Linked DNA regions of Homo sapiens: region 1 is linked to region 2. The links are contacts of gene promoters, found by promoter capture Hi-C in human tissues and cell types (Jung and others, 2019). All regions are on one chromosome and are shown on one strand. The core of a region is centred on a gene start or on the middle of the fragment in contact, and the rest is flanking DNA. Distances in the headings are between cores, read along the strand shown.

Region 1 (4,014 bases), core at 702-3,201, 380 kb after region 2:
ATAACTGAAACCTTATACCCTTCAACCATCACCTCCTCATTTCCCCTTCCCCTGAGCTCCTGGCAACCACCATTCTACTCTCTGCTTCTATGAGTTTGGCTATTGTAGGTTCCACATATAAGTGAGTCCGTACAGTATTTGTCTTTCTGTGTCTGTCTTATTTGACTTAGCATAATGCCCTCCAGGTCCATCCATGTTGTTGCATATGGCAAGGTTTCCTTCTATTTTAAGGCTGACTGATATTCCATCTTATGTATATACCAAACTTTCTTTATCTATTCATCCACTGGTGGACATTTAAGCAGTATTCATATCTTGGTGGATGTAAGTTATGCTATTAACACAGTGAACATGGGAGTGCAAATATCTCTCCAGGATTCTGATTTCAGTTCCTTTGGATAGGTACACAGAAGTGGGATGGCTGGATCATATGGTAGTTCTGTTTTTGGTTTTCTGAAGAACTTCCATACTATTTTCCATAATGGCTGTACCTCTTTGGGATAAAATTTAAATGGTCATTTTAAAATCATTTTGCATGACTCCTGGAAGGTTAAATTGCCCAGAGCAGATCCCTATCCAAGAGAAAGGGCTGCCTTTGTGGGCAACCTTGTAAGCATCACACTTAGACAGCAATGCCCAACCTAGATTTCTTCCTTCTTGAAACTTGTCAGTTGACTTAATGTCTCAGGCCCAAGAAATTGTACAATATCCTAGCAACTACTTTGATATCAGACAGGAGCTTAGGTTCACTTGTTTCTGTTTTAAAGCTGCTACCTGCAAAGTGCCAGGCATTTGACAAGTATTATCTGCCTTAATCTCAAAACCGCACTGCAAACTAAGGATTATGGGGCCTCATCCTACACATGAGGTAGTTAAGGCTCAATAAGCTTTAAAAATTTTGTCAAGTATCTCAGCTCAGATATGCAGAGACAATGTTTCAAATTAGGTCTGCCAAGCTCCCAAGATGATGGAGCCTTTTCCACTCACCCATTCTGTTTTACCACAAAGTCAAGAACAAGAAAAACCTGCAGTGGAAGCAAGACCTTGATCCTTAGCAGCATCTGGCTATTTGGGGCCAGCTGCTCAGAGCCTCAAGAATAAAAAAAAAAAAAAAAAAAAAAAAAACAGCATTGATTTGGGCTCAAGTTCTCTCTTTTTTCCAGTTTTGACCATCACTTTCATGGTTACTTTGAATTTGGAGAGCATTTGTCTGGCTTTTCATAAAGAAAATTCTGGCCTGGCGCAGTGGCTCACTCCTGTAATCTCAGCACTTTGGGAGGCTGAGGTGGGCAGATCACTATGTCAGGAGATTGAGACCACCCTGGCCAACATGGTGAAACCCTGTCTCTACTAAAAATACAAACATTAGCTGGGCATGGTGGCGTGTGCCTGTAATCCCAGCTACTCAGGAGGCTGAGGCAGGAGAATCGCTTGAACCCGGGAAGCGGAGGTTGCAGTGAGCCGAGATTGCACTCCAGCCTGGTGACAGAGCTAGACTCCGTCTCAATAAAAAAAGAAAGTTCTACTTTTTCTACAGTAACCACACTGATACTCAGGGAAAAAAATGAATAAAACTACCTTTAAAAATCAAGAGAGAAGCTGGGCATAGAGGTGCAAGCCTATAATCTCAGCTACTCAGAAGGCTAAAGCAAGAGGGTCCCTTGGGCCCAGGATTTTAAGGCTGTAGTGTGCTGTGATCATGCCTGTGAATAGCCACTTCACTCCAGACTGGGCAAGGTGGCAAGACTCTGTCACTTAAAAAAAGAAATCAGGAAACAGAGGAGACAGTGAGACAGAGGGAAAACATTATGGCAAATTAACCCACATACAGCACCTTTTCATTTTGTTTTTTATCTGTCTTAACTCAGGTCACAACAACTCCATCCCTTATCATCAGGTATGTGTGTCCAGCACCTAACTATGTTAAACTGGGAACAGTTTAAGATACCCAAGTACAGCATGGACTTCAGTAACAAAAACCTTCCTGCCACTTCCCAACTGATTGCCCTAAGACAGTGCCCTTACTTAACTTCTCAGCCTCGGTTTCCTATCTATAGCATGAGCATAATCATCTTGGCTAACAGTGATAGGGCAAAGGTCAAATTCGGTAAAATATGTGAAATATCTGTAAGCTATAAAGCACCATGCCCATATTTTTGGACATTATGTTTTATACATCGATTTACTTAACATTCATCCTGGCAACCTCCTCATTTGCATGCCCTCTGGCAAACAGAAATCTAGGACACAGCACAGCAAACTTGGAAGCATAGAGAAAATGCAAACTATGAGCAAACCTAGCATAAACACACAGATTTACCAGGAAATCATTTATACTGTAAGCAAAGAAATAAATTTTGGTGCGTAAATGTAGGGGATTCATTATTAACTGAATCTTACTCTTTAGTCAAAGAAGGTTTCCTGAAGAAGGAGGGATGTCAGGCAATTTTTAAATACCAGAAAGTTGAGCCTAAGAAGCACTTATGAGGGGTAAGTAGTCCATTGACCCAGGACAGCAAGTAGATGTGTCTCATTCCATCACCCAGGCTACTAAGAGAAGAAGAGGGGTATGAGAAGACATTGAGTACATAGACCAAGTTCCCTGTTTCACTGTGAGTCACATGAAGACCCTGAAACGTGAGGATGTCAACTCAGAGCCCACAGATGGCAAAATCAGGATTCTTATCCTCTACATACTTACAAATCTCTACTACCCTTGGAATTCAGGGCTGCTTAGATGACAGACAGAAAAAGACAACGTATCTCATGGGGGCTCTCACGCTTGCTCTGATTCTGGCTTCCTCTCCTTGGCCTTTTGTATCATCTCCTGGGGGTCTCTAGAGCTACCTAAGTAGCTAACAAGCAAGCTGAAAAGCTCATCTTCAGCAAGATCACTTTTGCAAGCGTAACAGTCTCAGATGAAATAGATTGGCTTCTTAAAGGACTTTGGCAGCACTCAAAAAAAAATCCTTTTGAAGCAGCAGTGCATGTGAGAGGGAGTGGGGAGCAGGGATGGTGGGGTGGGCTTACGACATTCTAACAACCAGAGGTCTCATGATACCTTGGCTTTTCCTAGAGAGACAGGACTCAGGTGTTCTGGGCCCTAATGATCCACTCCTGTTTTCACTGCCTCCTCTGTCCCCCACTTGTCCTTGTCCTTCCTCTAGGAGGCAGCAATACAACAGGGCTGTGTTACACAGTGGGCTCGATCATCCACTCTCCAAAACGCTCAAAGAACACAGATGGACTCTTCCTTCTGAGTAAATCCTCCTCAATTAGAAAGCTCCTCGGCTGGCCCTATCTTAACATCTGCCTGAGGTCCATATACTGTCTACGAGATGCTCATTAGTACTGCAGGCCCTAGAGTCATCGGTAGACCTTGGACACCAGTAAAACATGTAGAACCATCTCCTCCAGAGCCAACAACTTATTATGAAACCTTCACATTTTCACTGCCAAGCAGGTAGCAGGGGGGCCTCAGAAAACCACAAGCTTTGTCTCTTTTCATACACCTCTAATATCGAGGTGTCAGGTCAGACAACTCTACCAAAACTGCAGTATAAAATCCTTTATACTGTAAGCAAATATATTTATTTCAATGGACCACTTAACCCTCATAAGTGCATCTTAGGCTCAGCTTTCTGGTATTTAAAAAATTGCCTGACACCCCTCCTTCTTCAGGAAACCTTCTTCGACTAAAGAATAAGATTCAGTTAATAATGAATCCCCTACATTTATATACCAAAATTTATTTTTTTGCTTACAGAACCAAATTTATTTCTTTGCACCAGGACCAAAATTGCATTATACCCTCCTCAAGAAGCTTCGTAAATGATTATTTGGTTTTGAACTTTGTTTTTGGTGTTTTGCCTGTCCTACTCAGAAGGCAGCTTTTATCCTGACGACGTTTCAGTTTTAGCTATGGCTCTCTCTAAAGCTGCTAGTTTTGTATGGGTAGCTCCTTCCTTAGAAGGAAAATCTGCAGTATCTTTTTTAAGTTCTGCGTCAGAAGAC
Region 2 (3,870 bases), core at 329-2,828:
CCGAGTAGCTGGGACTACAGGCGCCCGCCACTAAGCCTGGCTAATTTTTTGTATTTTTAGTAGAGGCGGGGTTTCACCATGTTAGCCAGGATGGTCTCGATCTCCTGACCTCGTGATCCGCCCGCCTCGGCCTCCTAAAGTGCTGGGATTACAAGCATGAGCCACCACACCCGGCCTCAGTAGTTTCTTTTAAAGTTAAACATACATTACCTTGTGAACCAGCAATCTCACTCCTAGGTATTGACCCAAATGAAATAAAAATTTGTTCACACAAAAACCTATACATAGATGTTTATATCAACTTTATAATTACATTTATGTAATTCATTATATAAAATATAATGAATATAAAATTCATTACATAAAAAGTAATGAATTTTCAAAAACTGGAAACAACCCAAATGTCTTTCAACTAGTAAATGTATAAACAATCTGTGGTACATCCATGCTATGGAATATTACTCAACAATAACAAGAAACAAAATACTAACACATACAATGAGATGTTGAATTTTAAAATGGATGAACCTTAAAAGCATTATGCTAAGTGAAAGATGGACATGAAAGGCTACGTGTGGTATGATTCCATTTACTTGACATTCTGGAAAAGGCAAAACCATAGAGACAGAAAGTAAATCAGTGGTTACCAATGGCTGGGTGTTTGGGAAGATTTGACTGCAAAGGGATATAAGGGGATGTTTTGGATTGATGGAACTGTTCTAAGTCTTGATTAGGGTGCTGGCTATGTTACTGTACATTATGTATTTTAAAAGGTGAATTAATTATATGTAAATTATAACTCAATGAAAAGAAAATTCAATGTGAGGGCAAAAATACTGAAGGATAAATAGGGGGTTTATTTAGATTAAACCCATTACATTTTGAGAGCAGAGCACACTTTCTAGACTTGACTGGGTCCAATTTCAGCAGCATGGTAGAATGCTTAAGTGTAGAAATCATATCCAACTTATCTCCCCATGGGCCCATAGTACTTCCTTATGCAACTTATGAGTTCTCAGAGTAGCCCTGCAAACTGGTATACCCGCGCTTATACTCAAGGGTTAAAAAGTGTTGGATTGACAACTTAAAAAAAAAAACAGGCATTCAGCCTTACAGAAATCCTAGATGGCTCTGTTACTTCAGTCTATGATTTCGGTATTTTGAAATCACTGTCTGGGTATTTGTGTGGCCCGGAAGGCTAGTTTGGAGAACAAATACAGGGGTTTGCTAGTAGCGGGTAGGGTAGGACAGAAAGGGGTGAGGTGCTGAAAGGTGAGGGACAAATATGCTACTAATCAGTGTTTTTCAAGTGAATATTTCTACAGGGTAGAGCAGCAGTTGGCTTTTATAATCTAGATACAAAGTTGTTCTTTCTCCAGGGAGCTTCTTAGACTTACATGCTGCTGGTATATTCCTAGAATTCCACCTTAAAACAAGCTGAATGTCCTTATGGCTGACATCTCAGCATGGAAAAGTTTTGCTTAAGCAATGACACACTGCAGTTGGATCCTTCTCACCCACATCTGGAAGCCACATGTCAGCGGCAGCTATATAAAACGGTCAGACCAGCAATCTTAGAGTGACATTGTTTGCCAAAATCCCAGGCAGCATGGACCTCAGTCTTCTCTGGGTACTTCTGCCCCTAGTCACCATGGCCTGGGGCCAGTATGGCGATTATGGATACCCATACCAGCAGTATCATGACTACAGCGATGATGGGTGGGTGAATTTGAACCGGCAAGGCTTCAGCTACCAGTGTCCCCAGGGGCAGGTGATAGTGGCCGTGAGGAGCATCTTCAGCAAGAAGGAAGGTTCTGACAGACAATGGAACTACGCCTGCATGCCCACGCCACAGAGCCTCGGGGAACCCACGGAGTGCTGGTGGGAGGAGATCAACAGGGCTGGCATGGAATGGTAAGGGCCAGTCCCTGCACTGCACTGGGGCTGGGAACATCTCTGCATATCCCTCCTCCTGGGGGCTGCTAGACTCTCAAGGAATATCAGTAACCAAAGCCTGGGCAAATCCCACCCCAAACCTCACCACTGCATGCTCTGGGTGGAGCAGGGCTGCTGCTGAGCGGACTACATGACAGGACAAAAACCTGGGATGGGGAGTGTCTGTGGGAGACAGACTCCTCTGTGGCTCTGTTCCTTCCAGAAGCTGTTCTACCTACTCTCAGTTTGGGCCAGGGGCTGGTGTAGGTCGGCGAGAAGCTTGCTTACCAGACTACCAAAAGATATGTACAGAAACTGAAAGTAATAAACTTTATAGAAATTAAAACTTTCTGTGCCATCGGAATGGCATTTTTCTTTTTTAGAAATTTATTTTTACCATTTTACAAAAGTACTGGCCCACAGTAGTTTGGGAACAAGAAAAATAAACAATTGATCTCTCAGCACGGAGGGTTTGAGAACTATTGATTTAGAGCAAGTGAATGGAAAAGAGGGGACAAGGACATTTAGGCAAAAGAAAGTGGAATTAAATAGCTGTCTACTGCCTTGATTAAATGTGCTCTCTCAATTATGAGTACTGAGGTCCTTCTCTCTGCCTGAATTTAAAGTGGGTTTTATTGCTGGAAAATAGTTTACTAAAGGGTTTTGGAGAGAGGTGCTGTCTTCCCCTGACTGCATTCTGCCTTAAGCAGTGGCATGGAATTTTTTCGAGCTTGTACTTTTTTGTGGGGTGTGATTGTCTCAGCTGGGTCTCAGCCCAGGTGCTTGGTCAGGAGCTCATCCTAGTAGGCACTGACTGCTAGGCTGATTATTTACAACAGCCTAGATGGAGCCAGCACTCTAGGAGGCTTGGAGGAGAGAACGGAGGAGGCAGTCCAGGGAGGAGGAAGCCCACCTGGAGGGCTGCTGCATGTGCTATCTGTAGAGCAACCCAGATGTGTGGCAACAAGTACTTAGTGTAGTGGGGATTGGAGGGGTCAAGCACAAAATCTGGCCAGGTGTGGTGGCTCACGCCTGTAATCCCAAACACTTTGGGAGGCTGGGGAGGGAGGATCACTTGAGATCAAGAGTTCGAGACCAGCCTAGGGAACACAGCCAGACCCTATCTCTACAGAAAAAAAAAAATTAGCCCGGTGTAGTTGCATGCAGCCTGTGGTCCCAGCTACTCAGGAGGCTAAGGTAGGAGGATCACTTGAGCCCAGGGAGTCGAGGCTGCAGTGAGCCATGCTCGCACCACTGTATTCCCTCCTGGGTGGCAGAGCAAGACTCTGCCTCAAAAAAAAAAAAAAAAGAAAATAGAAAAAAGAAAAAGCATAGAACCCTGGGGGACACAACCAGTAGAGAGGTGATGATGGGAAATCCAAGAGGAAGAAACACCGATGGGTGGGGGAGCCAGGAAAGAGAGCGGGCCTTTAAGTAATGACAACAGCTACCATTTATTGAGTGCTTACCCTGAGCAGGCTCCATGCTAAGTGCTTTATGTGGATCATCTCGTGTAATGCTCAAAACAAGGGTATATCCCATTTATAGGTAGACAAACTGCAGTCTAGAGATCCAGTATTTCCTCGGCTAGAAAGCTGGGGTTTGGATCCACAGAGTCTTTGCTTCAAAGAGTTTGTACTTTGCCACAGTGACGGGCTCCTGAGAGGCTGCTGCCTCCACCCAGAGTGGGCTCCCACCCGACAGCTGACTCTGTCAGCAGAGCCAGTGCCACAGGACCAGATTCAGGGCAGTTCTTCCTCCTGGAGAGGGTGGGGACCTGCAAGACCACAGCAGAAGCCCAGCCCCAGAGGGATGATCCCTACTTGGTTACCAGGACTGTGGAGGGGCTCAGCCGGACTGTAGAAGGGGTGGGGAGAGGACTCACACAGGCAGCAGCAGGTGAGGGTGCCGGGGCTGTGGAGGCTGCTTGGACAG

What was found. Contacts are between HindIII fragments. The study calls those that stand out against the background at their distance.
Region 1: a contact is called between a fragment that was not itself captured here and the fragment with the promoter of DPT in region 2, in 1 of the 25 tissues and cell types used here (hippocampus).

What each region holds. Positions count from the first base shown.
Region 1 is chr1:168,342,928-168,346,941 of GRCh38, reverse strand. No RefSeq gene overlaps it. Among named protein-coding and RNA genes, the nearest start is that of MIR557, 31 kb to the left of the region's middle. The HindIII fragment of the contact is 4,593 bases long and covers 1-4,014 here.
Region 2 is chr1:168,726,914-168,730,783 of GRCh38, reverse strand. It overlaps DPT (dermatopontin), which reads left to right and starts at 1,578. Exons shown (of 4, transcript NM_001937.5): 1 at 1,578-1,914. The coding sequence starts at 1,610. The HindIII fragment of the contact is 7,078 bases long and covers 1-3,870 here.